Linked DNA regions of Homo sapiens: region 1 is linked to region 2. Evidence: promoter capture Hi-C in human tissues and cell types (Jung and others, 2019). All regions are on one chromosome and are shown on one strand. Each heading gives the region's core, a stretch centred on a gene start or on the middle of the fragment in contact. The rest is flanking DNA. Distances are from core to core; before and after follow the strand shown.

Region 1 (6,624 bases), core at 3,371-5,870, 120 kb after region 2:
AGCCTCCAAAAGTGCTGGGATTACAGGCCTGAGCCATTGTGCCTGGCTTTTTTTTTTTTTTTTTTTTGAGGTGGAGTCTTGCTCTGTCACCCAGGTTAGAGTGCAGTGGCACACAATCTCGGCAGCTCACTGCAACCTTCGCCTCCTAGGTTCAAGTGATTCTTCTGCCTCAGCCTCCCTAGTAGCTGGGATTACAGGCACATACCACCACACCTGGCTAATTTTTTTTGTTTGTTTTTTTGAGTTGGAGCTTCCCTATGTTGCCCAGGCTGGAGTGCAGTGGCCCGATCTCGGCCTCCCGGCTTCAAGCGATTCTCCTGTCTCAACTTCCTGAGTAGCTGGGATTACAGGGGTCTGCCACCAAGTCCGGCTAATTTTTTTGTATTTTTAGTAGAGACGGGGTTTCACCATATTTGACAGGCTGGTTTTGAACTCCTGACCTCAAGTGATCAATCCGCCTTGGCCTCCCAATAATCTTTGTAATTTTAGGTTAGGTGGGGTTTCACCATGTTGGCCAGGCTGGTTTCAATCTCCTGACCTCAAGTGATCCGCCCGCTTCGGCTTCACAAAGTGGTGGGATTACAGGTGTGAGCCACCGCATCCAACCTGAAATTTGCTTGTTTTTAGCAAAATTAATTAATGCAAAGGTGTATTATATGTAAAGGTCAAATTTGGGCAGCTTACTACATTGCTTTTCTTGCAGGACGATGTTCAACTTTGGCTCTCCTATGTGGCTTTTTGTAAGAAGTGGGTGAGTAAAGCCATGCATGTCTTGCTTCCTCTGACCGTCTTTTTGTTAATCTGCCCTTTAAGCTTCATGCCAGATGTTTTTTCCTGAAGTGTAGGGTTAACATGAAAAAAGAACCCAAGAAGGCGGAACATCAATATAACATTGGATATCTGAATGACTATGGTTTCCAATTCAATTGAAAAGAATATAATTTTTACGTGTGTTTGTTCAATACAGTTGACTTTTTAAAAAGATATTTAAAGTGTTTAGTGGTTTAATTGAGGTAGAAAATTTTGAGGGTCTGTGTTCGTTTATATATCCCTAGCAATAGCATGTCATGCTCCATTGGATTTTACAGTTGGTAAAGTTAGGGTACATATTACTTAGAGAGTAAGATCAATGATTTATCTGTGCAGGAAGTAGAAATATTTTCCTTTTTTACAGGCTACTAAAACTCGACTTAGCAAGGTATTCTCTGCCATGTTGGCGATTCATTCCAACAAACCAGGTATGGTGAAATCTTTGTCAATTTTTCTATGTTTTATTTAGACTCAAGCCATTTTGGATTTTATTTCGATTGATGAATCTAAGAGAAATTATTTTGAGGACTTGAGCTTAGGCAGTTGGCCTCAGCAGTTTTTCTTACTGAATAGCTGCCTCATAGTTCACCCCTGCCTACTATATACTAGTTACTGTCCTAGGTGTTGTATCTGCAGGCAAGAAGGACTGTATTTCTTTTTTTTTTGAGACGGAGTCTCGCTCTGTCGCCCAGGCTGGAGGGCAGTGGTGTGATCTTGGCTCACTGCAACCTCCGCCTCCCAGGTTGAAGCAATTCTCCTGCCTTAGCCTCCTGAGTAGGTGGGATTACAGGTGCCCGCCACCACGCCCAGCTAATTTTTGTATTTTTAGTAGAGACTGGGTTTTACCACGTTGGTCAGGCTGGTCTCTCGAACCCCTGACCTCGTGATCCACCCGCCTTGGCCTTCCAAAGTGCTGGGATTACAGGCGTGAGCCACCACTCCCGGCCAGACTGTATTTCTTTTTAGATGATGGCAAAATAAACTTTTGAATCCTTTGTGGGACATTTTATTTGGAGGCAGTCAAATCTGAGGAATTTTAGAAGCTTAAAGGGGAAAATATCAATATAAATTTTAGAAGAGTGCTGGTACAGAGTAGACTCATGTTTTGTAAGAGAAATATTTCTCTTGTGAATAATGTATAAATGGTCTAGTTGATAGTGGAGGGGCCTCAGCACCTATTCTCAGGGTATTAGGCTTAATCAGATATCTTATACCACACAAGACTCAAATAGACTACATTTGGCACCAGTTTACTCAGAAATATAGCAGGATAGCCTTAGGTATGTTCCTTCTGCAGAATGCTCTTAGCAGAATGGAGGTAGCCTCTGGTTCCTAAGGTGACTGTTCAGGTATGAGGAGATGAGATCATATCAGTAGGTAGGGGATCCAGTCTGGTTTAGAAGCCCCATGGATGGGCATGGCTTCTACAGATCCTAGAAAGGTCATGCTCAATTTTAGGAGTCACATGTTCAAGGAAGCCCAAAGCAATTGCTTGCCACCATTGCTGACCCTTCTATTCCAGGTGTGGTTACCAATCAGGCGTCATTTTTAACAAAAGCAATCTTGATAAGATAGGTGACCTTTATTAAATGTCTAGGGAAATAGCTAGAATGTTAACTCAGGGTTAATTTCCCATGTAGAAGGACAAAGGGTTTTAGAGAAAATTATGAATTATAATTTATTTTATTTTTTATTTTTTTGAGACAGAGTCTTGCCTCTGTTGCCCAGGCTGGAGTGCAGTGGTGTGATATCAGCTCACTGCAACCTCTGTCTCCTGGGTTCAAGTGATTCTCATGCCTCAGCCTTCTAAGTAGCTGGGATTACAGATGTGCACCACCACGCCTGGCTAATTTTTGTATTTTTAGTAGAGATGGGGTTTCGCCATGTTGGCCAGACTGGTCTCAGAACTCCCAGCCTCAAACGATCTGTGCACCTCAGCCTCCCAAAGTGCTGGGATTACAGGAGTAAGCCACTGTGGCTTGCCCTATAATTTCTCTAAATATTGAGAAAAGAGCAAAAAATAATTTTATTTGTGGTAAGATAAGCAGTTTTTTCTGGACTTTTTTTTTTGACATGGAGTCTTGCTCTGTCGCCCAGGCTGGGGTGTAGTCGTGTGATCTCAGCTCACTGCAACCTCTGCCTCCCAGGTTAAAGTGATCCTTCTGCCTCAGTCTCCGTAATAGCTGAGACTATAGGAGGGTGCCACCACGCCTGGCTAATTTTTTGTATTTTTTAGTAGAAACGAGGATTCACCATGTTGGCCAGGCTGGTCTCAAACTCCTGACATCAAGTGATCTGCCTGCCTCGGCCTCCCAAAGTGCTGGAACTACAGGTGTGAGCCACTGTGCCTGGCCTTTTTCTGGCATTTTACTACCTTTAAAATTTGTATGTGGGCCAGGCACGGTGGCTTATGCCTATAATCCCAGCACTTTGGGAAGCCGAGGCAGGCAGATCATTTGAGATCAGGAGTTTGAGACCAGCCTGAGCAACATGGTGAAAACCCATCTCTACAAAGTTACAAAATTTAGGTGGGCGTGATGGTGTATGCATGTGGTCCCAGCTACTTGAGGGGCTAAGGTGGGATTCTGGTAGGTGAAGACTGCAGTGAGCTGTTGTTTGTGCCACTGCAGCCTGAGCAACAGAGCAAGACCCTGTCTCAAAAAAAGAAAAAAATTGTATGTGACTTACAATAATGTCCTTAGATCTGATGAAAACAGTAACAGACACTTAGGTACTCATCCTCTAAATTGAACATTTGTTATCATTTACTCATTTGCTTCAGAATACTGTTTCTAATTTTAGATAACGTAGCCAAGCTTTGCAGTTAGAAACTGTCTGTCCGAACTGCTTCCCCTTTTGTTAAAGGTTTTTTTAAAAAATTGTTTGAGTGGGCCGGGCGCAGTGGCTCATGCCTGTAATCCTAGCACTTTGGGAGGCCGAGGCGGGCGGATCACGAGGTCAGGAGATTGAGACCATCCTGGCTAACATGGTGAAACCCCGTCTCTACTAAAAATACAAAAAAAATTAGCCGGGCATGGTGGCGGGTGCCTGTAGTACCAGCTACTCGGGAGACTGAAGCAGGAGAATGGCATGAACCTGGGAGGCGGAGCTTGTAGTGAGCCGAGATTGCGTCACTGCACTCCAGCCTGGGCGACAGAGTGAGACTGTCTCAAAAAAAAAAAAAAAAAAAAATTGTGCGAGTATTAAAATTGGATCATTTGGTTCTTTTCTTGTCTGACTTGATTAATTTATTGAAATGAAATCTGATGGTTTTTCACTTACAGCTTTGTGGATTATGGCAGCCAAATGGGAAATGGAAGATCGATTGTCTTCAGAAAGCGCAAGGCAACTATTTCTTCGCGCACTGCGCTTTCATCCAGAGTGCCCAAAACTTTATAAAGAAGTGAGTGTGTATGCACATAGGATGAGACAGTGATGTTTCAGTTTGGTCCTCTGGAGACATATTTTTTTTTCCTGGATTCAAGCAATTCTTACGCCTCAGCCTCCCGAGTAGCTGGGATTACAGGTGCCCGCCACCATACCTGGCTATTTTTTTTGTATTTTTAGTAGAGGCGGGGTTTTGCCATGTTGGCCAGGCTGGTTTCACTTTTTTTTTTTGAGACAGTCTTGCTCTGTTGCCCAGGCTGGAGTGCAGTGGCACGGTCTCGGCTCACTGCAAGCTCTGCCTCCTGGGTTCACACCATTCTCCTGCCTCAGCCTTCCGAGTAGCTGGGACTACAGGTGCCTGCCACCATGCCTGGCTAAATTTTTGTATTTTTTATTAGGGATGGGGTTTTACCATGTTAGCCAGGATGATCTCGATTTCCTGACCTGGTCATCCGCCCGCCTCCACCTCCCAAAGTGCTGGGATTACAGGCGTGAGCCACTGCGCCCGGCCCATGTATTCTTTATTAAATAAAAAAGGCTTCAATTTATGGAGGCTAGGAATAAGTGTGGAGGTGTGGGTAAGGACAAACATCTTTTTTATTTTTTGAGATGGAGTCTCGTTCTGTTTCCCAGGCTGGAGTGTAGTGGCCCGGTCTTGGCTCATTGCAACCTTTACCTCCTGGGTTCAAGCAATTCTCCTGCCTCAGCCTCCTGAGTAGGTGGGATCCCACGTCCGGCTAATTTTTGTATTTTTAGTAGAGATGGAGTTTCGCCCTGTTGGGCAGGCTGGTCTCAAACTCCCGAACTCAGGTGATCTGCCTGCCTCAGCCTCTGAAAGTGGTGGGATTACAGGTGTGAACCACCATGCCCGGCCAGGGAAAAACATCTTTTTGTAGGTGTTGACACTGCAGCTTCTAAGTTAGTTGAGAGGTTGGAACCCCCGCCTCCTTCCTGTGGTTGGAAGGAATAGGGAACTAGACTCTAACATTTTTTTAGCTGGGAGCCAGATTTAGCCTCTTTATACTTTTGTTTTTATTTTTTTTTCTTGTTCCCTTGGTTCTCCAAAGAAGCCCTCTTCTGGCTTCTTTGCCTTGTCTTCCTCTTTTCTCCATGTTCTTTCTGTCTCCTTTTCTTGAGATAGATACCTGGTAGTACTTCCTTTCTCTCTTCGGGGACTTACTCCCTTATGGATGGTGCCTTAGAACATTTGAGGGCCAAGCTTTAGATAAAATCCCAAATAAGAGAAAGAATGTATTGGAAGCTGCACTGTTTTCTGAGTCATTTGTCAGGATAAAAGAGAAACTGCTATTTAATTCTTTTTTTTTTTTTTTTTTTTTTTGAGATGGAGTCTCACTCTTGTTGCTCAGGCAGGAGTGCAATGGTGTGTTCTTGGCTCACTGCAACCTCCACGCCCGGGGTTCAAACGATTCTCCTGCCTCAGCCCCCGAAGTAGCTGGGATTATAGGTGTGCACCACCATGCCCCGCTAACTTTTGTATTTTTAGTAGAGATGGGGTTTTACCATGTTGGGCAGGCTGGTCTCGAACTCCTGACCTCAAGTGATCCGCCCGCCTGGCCTCCCAAAGTGCTGGGATTACAGGCATGAGCCACCGTGCCCAGCCTGCTATTTAATTCTTAAATGAAAGTTAAGCCTGGGTGTGGTGGCTCATGCCTTTAATCCCAGCACTTTGGGAGGCTGAGGCAGGAGGATCACTTGAGGTCAGTTGTTTCAGGCCAGGCAGCAACGTAGCAAGATCCTGTCTCTACAAAAAATAAAAATAAAAAAATTATCTGAGTGTGATGGAATGCACCTCTAATCCTAGCTACTCAGGAAGCTGAGGCAAGGGGATCACTTGAGTGCAGGAATTCATGGCCGAAATGAGCTGTCATCACCAGTGCACTCCAGCTTGGGTGACAGAGCAAGACCCTGTCTCAAAAAAATTTTAAAAAGCATCTCCAAAGATTTTCAGTTTATTTCTCTTCTGTAGTACTTTAGGATGGAGCTGATGCATGCTGAAAAACTGAGGAAGGAGAAGGAAGAATTTGAAAAAGCCAGTATGGATGTGGTAAGGTTCTAATTATTTTATTCTCACTTGCTAACGATGTATAACATTTTGAGCCTGCTTAGGAGTAAGAGAAAATATTTGGAATATATTTTTCTTTTTTTTTCTTTTTTTTTGAGACGGAGTCTCGGTCTGTCACACAGGCTGGAGTGCAGTGGCACCATCTTGGCTCACTGCAACCTCTGCCTCCGGGTTCAAGCTTTAATGTTTAATGTTGTTACATTTTGAAACTTCCAGATGAGTTAGTGTTACTTATAAATGGACTTAGTTAGGAAAATGAAGCTTTATGCTATAAAAATAGATATTTGGACTAATTAATGTGGTTCTCAAAATTGTTACTTACAGAATAGCCAAATACTATTCTT
Region 2 (6,444 bases), core at 51-2,550:
TTAACACAATTTAAAAACCACAGCTAGGGGTGTGAACACAGGCATGTTTTTCTGTGTGTCTGTGTGCCACAATCTGTACAAATCCTTAATTCCCTTTTAAGGAACAGATATATAATGAAAATCCGAAAGGAAACACATTAGAAATGCAAAGAGGTTTGCAAAACAAGAGGCTTCTTTCATTCCAGAAAACCACACCAAAACAAGGGGAGAAAAATGAATGCAATGGATATGTGTTTGCCAAAGTTTCAATCCTGCCCGGTGGAGACACTGCACTGGCACAAATTTTGAGGAGAAAAAAAGGGAGTTGGGGGGACGGGGAGCAAGCGAGTGCGGCCTGCAACAATGCAATCTCCATTTTGAACAATGTGCTTCTTTCCTCTTATAAATCTAGTTTTTTGCCACTTGATGTGCCCTCCCATTTCCCCTCTAAAGTTTAGGGGTCGGCGGGGTTGGCGGGAGATCGGAGCGGGATGCACAGCACATAAGTGAGCAAGGGGGGAGGGGAGAGGAGGTGGGGAATGAGTCTGCAGCAACTGCGCTGGGTGGGTACCTGGAGTGCTGCTGAAGCTGCTTTCCGTGGAGTAACTGGCGTCCTCGTCGTCATCTTCCAGCTCCTCCGGATAATCGGAGTCATCGTCGTCCTCCTCCATGTCATCCTCCTAGTTGTCCTCAGACTCCTGGGTCTCCTCGGCATCGCCGCCCCCCTCCTCTTACTCCTCCTCCTCGCTCTCGTAGTCATCATACACCACTCTGTTGACAGCCCTCCGGGCTGCGGTGGTCCGGGCTAGGTGGCTGCCCCCGCGCCCCCGCCGGGCCCGTGCGCTGGTGCCGGCGCGGGGCGGGCCGGCGGCGGTGGCTTCCTCCGGCTACTGCTGCCCACCCTGGGCGAGCTCAGCCGCGTCTTGGGCGCCACCTCAGCCTGGCGGCTGCCCACCTGCCCCGGCTACTACCGCGTATCGGCGAGGGGAGCCCCCGATGGGTCCGGACGTGGGCGGCGGCGGCGGCGGGGCCGGGGCGCAGCGCTCCGCAGCGGGAGCCGCGGGCTGCTTGGTCGGCCTGCCCCGCCGGCCCCTCTTGTTGGAGCCCAGGCGGCGGGAGAAGGGAAAGCTGACGGGGAGGGCCGGGCGCAGTGGCGGCGGTGGGGAGCGCCGGGGCCGGGTTGGGAGGCCCGAGGGGCTGGGCGGGAGGGGCCCGGCCGGCGGAAGCGAGTGGAGGGAGAAGGCTCAACCGAATTGCTGGGGCCCCACTCAAGATCGCCTTCAACCGCCACCTTGTTTCTTCCCTCTACAGGAGCGCGGTCACGTGAGGTGCGCCGCCGCCCAGCCTGGGAAGGGGGCGAGGTGGCGCGGCGGCCGCTAGGGGGAGCGCGGGAGCATTGAGTCGGGGGCGGAGAGCTCGGGGCGCCTGGACTTGGCGCAGCACGGCGCTCCGGGTGCGGGTGGCGCGGCTGAAAGAGGCCCGCAGCTCCTGACAAGCCCCGCGTCTAAGGCCTTCGGAGACCACAGTCTCCGCGGACCCCTGGCTGGAGCCCAAAGCCTGCCGGGTCTCCTTCCCGCGACTCCCCTTCCGCGGCTCGGAGAGGAAGGCAGGAGAGCCCCCAAATATCGTTCCCCTCCCGCCCTCTAGGGAAACTGAGGCTGAAAGAGGCAGCGAGAGAAAGAAAAAAAAAGTCGCGGAGGGGGGCGGCCCGAGCGACCTAAGGGACGGGGCAGCGCCAGCGACCGAGGAAAATTAGTCGGGGTGGGGTACAGGGAGACAAGCCCCCAGAATTTAGGAAACTCCGAAGCTTGGAAGTGGAGTCCTGAATTGACTCCGATGACAACTGCTCCGGATCTGTGCCAGGAGCCACACCCCGGGCTGCCACGCCTGGAGGGAGGGGGGTCCCTAAGACCTGTTGCATGGGATCCCCACTCGGAAAGCCTCAGTAAACTCCAGAATGCAACTACTGCATGTTCCAATCTCCCGCCACCTTCCCAGTGTCCCAGCTAGGAGCCTGACCACCTTAGCAAGAACTTACCTCTCCTTTGCAGTGGAAAAGAGGGAATCCTGCCTAAAACCTACTTCACGGTGTTACAGGTCTGTATTATCGGGAAATAACCTTAATTTATTTACCTGACAAATCACTAGGTTTGAGCTCAGCCCAGGGGACGAATCATGGTGACAGTTCAGGCACCCTCAAACCTTATCACAGGGACTCAACCCTGAGTGGTTGAGGTCAGTTCTTCAGATAAGAGAAAGGTTTGCCGGGCACAGTGGCTGACGCCTGTAATCCCAGCACTTTGGGAGGCCGAGGCGGGCGGATCACAAGGTCAGGAGTTCGAGACCATCCTGGCTAGCACAGTGAAACCCCATCTCTACTAAAAATACAAAAAAAATTAGCCGGGCGTAGGTGGTGCACGCCTGTAGTCCCAGCTACTCGGGAGGCTGAGGCAGGAGAATGGCGTAAAATCCGGGAGGCGGAGGTTGCAGTGAACCGAGATCGCGCCACTGCACTCCAGCCTGGGAGACAGAGCGAGACTCCGTCTCAAAAAAAAAAAAAAAAAAAAAAAAAAAAAAAGAAAAAGAAAGGTTTCGTAAACATATGTTAATATTTATTGAGATAAGTGACAACCAAAAAGTAATTTAAACAAAAATACTTGGCCGGGCGCGATAGCTCATGCCTGCAATCCCAGCCCTTTGAGAAGCCAAAGCCGGACGATTGCTTGAGGTCAAGAGTTTGAGACTAGCCTGGGCAACATAGCAGGACCTCGTCTCTAGAAAAAAATTGAAAAATTAGCCGGGCATGGTGGTGCGCACCTGTGGTCCCAGCTACGCCAGAGGGTGAGGGGGCAGGATCGCTTGAGCCTGGGAGGTGGATGTTGCACTGAGCCATGATTGCACCTCTGCACTCCAGCCTGAGTGACAGAGCAAGACCCTGTCTCAAAATTTTTAAAAAAGAAAGAAAAATACCTAATAGGAGATGGCTTATTTCAATCTAGTTAGGAAAATGGAACACATATGTGAAATGAAAATTAAAATACAAGCACTAATTGCCAAATACATGCATTCAATACAGTTTGGTTGAGCTCTAAGGGTGGCAAATGTGTGTTATGTCTTCAGGGACTAGGTAAGTAATGTAAGTCAATAAAGTAGACAAGGTGAAGACCTAGGCCAATGGAAATGCTCATATTTTGTTTGAAGAGGGTGGCCAGGTGTGGTGGCTCAGACCTGTAATCCCAGCACTTTAGGAAGCCAGGTGGGTGGATCACTTGAGCCCAGAAGTTCGAGGTTAGCCTGGCCAACATAGTGAAACCCCATCTCTACTTAAAACACAAAAATTAGCCGGGCATGGTGGCATGTGCCCATAGTCCTAGCTACTCAGGAGGCTGAGGCAGGAGAATCGCTTGAACCTGGAAGGCGGAGGTTGTGGTGAGCGGAGACCATGCCACTGCACTCCAGCCTGGGCAACAGAGCGAGACTCCTTCACCACCCCCTCCCCCCCACCAAAAAAAAGAGAAAAGTTAAACAAAATAGACCAAAAAAACCCAACTCTTCTTTGAATGGATTAGCAGGTATTTGCTGTTTTGCTCCTTTATGCTTTAATGAATTTATCTTTCTGTGGCTTCAAGAAGAAAAATGTTAAGTCAGTGAATACTGTATAGGTTGAGCATCCTTACCTAAAATGCTTTGGATCAGAAGTGTTTTGGGCATTTTTGGAATATTTGCATTCTACTTACCAGTTGATCATTTCTAATCTGAAAATCTGAAATGCTCTAATGAGCATTTCCTTTGAACAGCATGTTGACACTCAAAAACTTTTGGACCTTGGAGCATTTTGGATTTCAGATTTTCAGAATAAGGGTACTCCACCAGTATCCTTTTATCTATGATTTAATATAGCCCTTCTTTCTTCAGAATTACTGAGTGACTCATTCCTGTAATGCTGCTGAATTTTTATTCATTTACTACCTTAACAATAATATTTAACATTTATTGATCACTAATGTGCCCAGGCACTATGGTAGATGCCTCATCATTATACTTTTAAGTCTTATAGTGGCACACAGGCAGGTTTTATTATATCCTCATTTTACAAGTGAGATAAATAAAATGTCTTAGAGACTCAGAGAGGTTGTGTTTTGTCCATGTCCACATATCTTCTAAGCACATTAGCCTATTTAAAGCCAGATCTCTCCAAAAGCCCAGTTTTTTCAGTTCCCTCAGTTTGCCATTGAGGAAACAGGAAAATCAGACTCACTGTCATCAATTGCCTCACACATACTCTTGAATTGCTTTTGAGTGGGAACAGAAATACCATTATGTGTGTTCCTCTACATCTAGTCCTAGACATTAATTTGCCTTGTTTCTTTTAAGTTAGTGACCATCTCTGTTGAAGTCTTTAAATCCATTAAAAGTGAATGGAACCTTAGGAGAGTTTTAGGCTGGAGAGGAAGCTCTTCTCTTCATTTTGGGCTTCGATTGTCCCGAAGAAAAGGGATGAGATATTATTTGAGATAACTCCTTCAAGAACCAGAACTTAGCAAAGCGTTTACACCAGTTTGATGGAAATATTTCTAAACTATATTATAAAATTAGCCAGGTATGGTGGCACATGTCTGTAGTCCTAGCTACTTGGGAGGCTGAGGCAGGAGAATTGCTTGAACCTAGGAGTCTGAGTACGCAGTGAGCCATGATGGTGCCACTGCACTCTAGCCTGGGTGACAAAGTGAGACCCTGTCTCTAAAATACATTTATTTTATTCTAAAATAATTCTAGGCTGGGTGCAGTGGCTCATGCCTATAATCCCAGCACTTTAGGAGGCCGAGGTGGGCAGATCACAAGGTCAGGAGATCAAGAACATGTTGGCCAAATCCATCTCTACTAAAAATACAAAAATTAGCTGGGCATGGTGGCACATGCCTGTAGTCCCAGCTACTCTGGAGGCTGAGGCAGGAGAATCGCTTGAACCCGGGAGGCCAGGGGTTGCAGTGAGCCGAGATCGCGCCACTGCACTCCAGCCTGAGTGACAAGAGCAAAACTCCATCTCAATAAATAATTAAAATAAAATAATTCTAAATACATTCGGCTCATCATATTGTTACATTGATGATCTTAAAGTTGATTGAGATGTAGCTGAAACTGGCTTCCACAAAGTACTCTCATATGGTTCTGAATTTTGAGGTCATCTTTCTCTGTATCAAGTTTTTTAGATGTCCTTTCTCAGAGTAAATCAAGTTTGAGTAAGACCTGCAGGGATCTCTTGTGAGCACATATATTGAGTTTTAGTGCATAAGCTTTAACTTTTCACTGGGTAGATGAAACTGTCAGAAAAGTGGCATTATGTCTAACATATAAAGTATTTCCCCATTTTTAAACAGAGAAGATACAGAAAATGAAAATGAAAATAAAATTTGGTACTACAGCACAAAGGTCCAGCTTGCAGAATTAATTGACTGTCTAGACAAAGATTATTGGGAAGCAGAACTCTGCAAAATTCTGGAAGAAATGCATGAAGAAATCCGACACATGGACATAACTGAAGACCTGACCGATAAGGCTCAGGGCAGTAACAAATCCTTTCTGGTGACAGCTAATGGTGAGAGGGTCATTTTCTCATTTTATTTTTGTTAAGTCTGAGCTAAACTGTTGGTATGAAATCACTGCAAAATTTGAAAATAGATTAAAAAAAATTTTTTTTTTTTTTTTGAGATGGAGTCTCGCTCTGTCGCCCAGGCTGGAGCGCAGTGGCACAATCTTGGCTCACTGCAACCTCCGCCTCCCAGGTTCACGCCATTCTCCTGCCTCAGCCTCCTGAGAAGCTGGGACTACAGGCGCCCACTGCCACCATGCCCGGCTAAATTTTTGTATTTTTAGTAGAGATGAGGTTTCACCGTGTTAGCCAGGATGGTCTCGATCTCCTGACCTCGTGATCCAACTGCCTTGGCCTCCCAAAGTGCTGGGATTACAGGCTTGAGCCACCGTGTCCGGCCAAAAATAGATTAAAATTTTCAAGTACAGTCATGCATTGCTTAATGATGGGGATACATTCTGAAAAATGTGTCATTTGGCGATGTCCCGATTGTGTGAACATCATAGAGTACACTTACACAAACCTAGATGGTAGGGTTTCCAACACACCTAGGTTATACGGCATAGCCTATTGCTGCTAGGCTGCAAACCTGCACATCATGTGACTGTACTGAATCCCGTGATCAGCTGTAGCACAACGGTAGGTATTTGTGTATCTAACCATATCTAAACATTTAAAAAGGTACTACATAAAATCTTATGGGATCACCGTCATGTATGTGGTTCCTTGTGGACTGAAACATTGTGCAGTGCATGACTGTGTGTATATTTTACTTTAGTTCTCCGTATTTCATTTTCCCAAGAGAACCTTGTTCATTCCCACATAAATTAGGGATGCTATATATTTTAGTGTTTTATTTCTGCCTTGGGTCATTA

Evidence for each region. Contacts are between HindIII fragments. The study calls those that stand out against the background at their distance.
Region 1: a fragment that was not itself captured here is called in contact with the fragment with the promoter of LRRC37B in region 2 in 3 of the 25 tissues and cell types used here (H1 embryonic stem cells, hippocampus and mesenchymal stem cells).

What each region holds. Positions count from the first base shown.
Region 1 is chr17:31,886,874-31,893,497 of GRCh38, reverse strand. UTP6 (UTP6 small subunit processome component) reads left to right here. Exons shown (of 19, transcript NM_018428.3): 5 at 704-751; 6 at 1,175-1,238; 7 at 4,095-4,213; 8 at 6,185-6,262. Among named protein-coding and RNA genes, the nearest start is that of UTP6, 12 kb to the left of the region's middle. RefSeq lists an enhancer at 3,376-3,555. The HindIII fragment of the contact is 3,760 bases long and covers 2,741-6,500 here.
Region 2 is chr17:32,002,239-32,008,682 of GRCh38, reverse strand. LRRC37B (leucine rich repeat containing 37B) reads right to left here and starts at 1,300. Exons shown (of 15, transcript NM_001321350.2): 1 at 551-1,300. LOC124903972 reads left to right here and starts at 976. Exons shown (of 4, transcript XM_047437248.1): 1 at 976-1,307; 2 at 1,978-2,076; 3 at 5,358-5,575. The coding sequence starts at 976. RefSeq lists silencers at 895-1,244, 1,285-1,334 and an enhancer at 1,377-2,299. The HindIII fragment of the contact is 11,687 bases long and covers 1-3,530 here.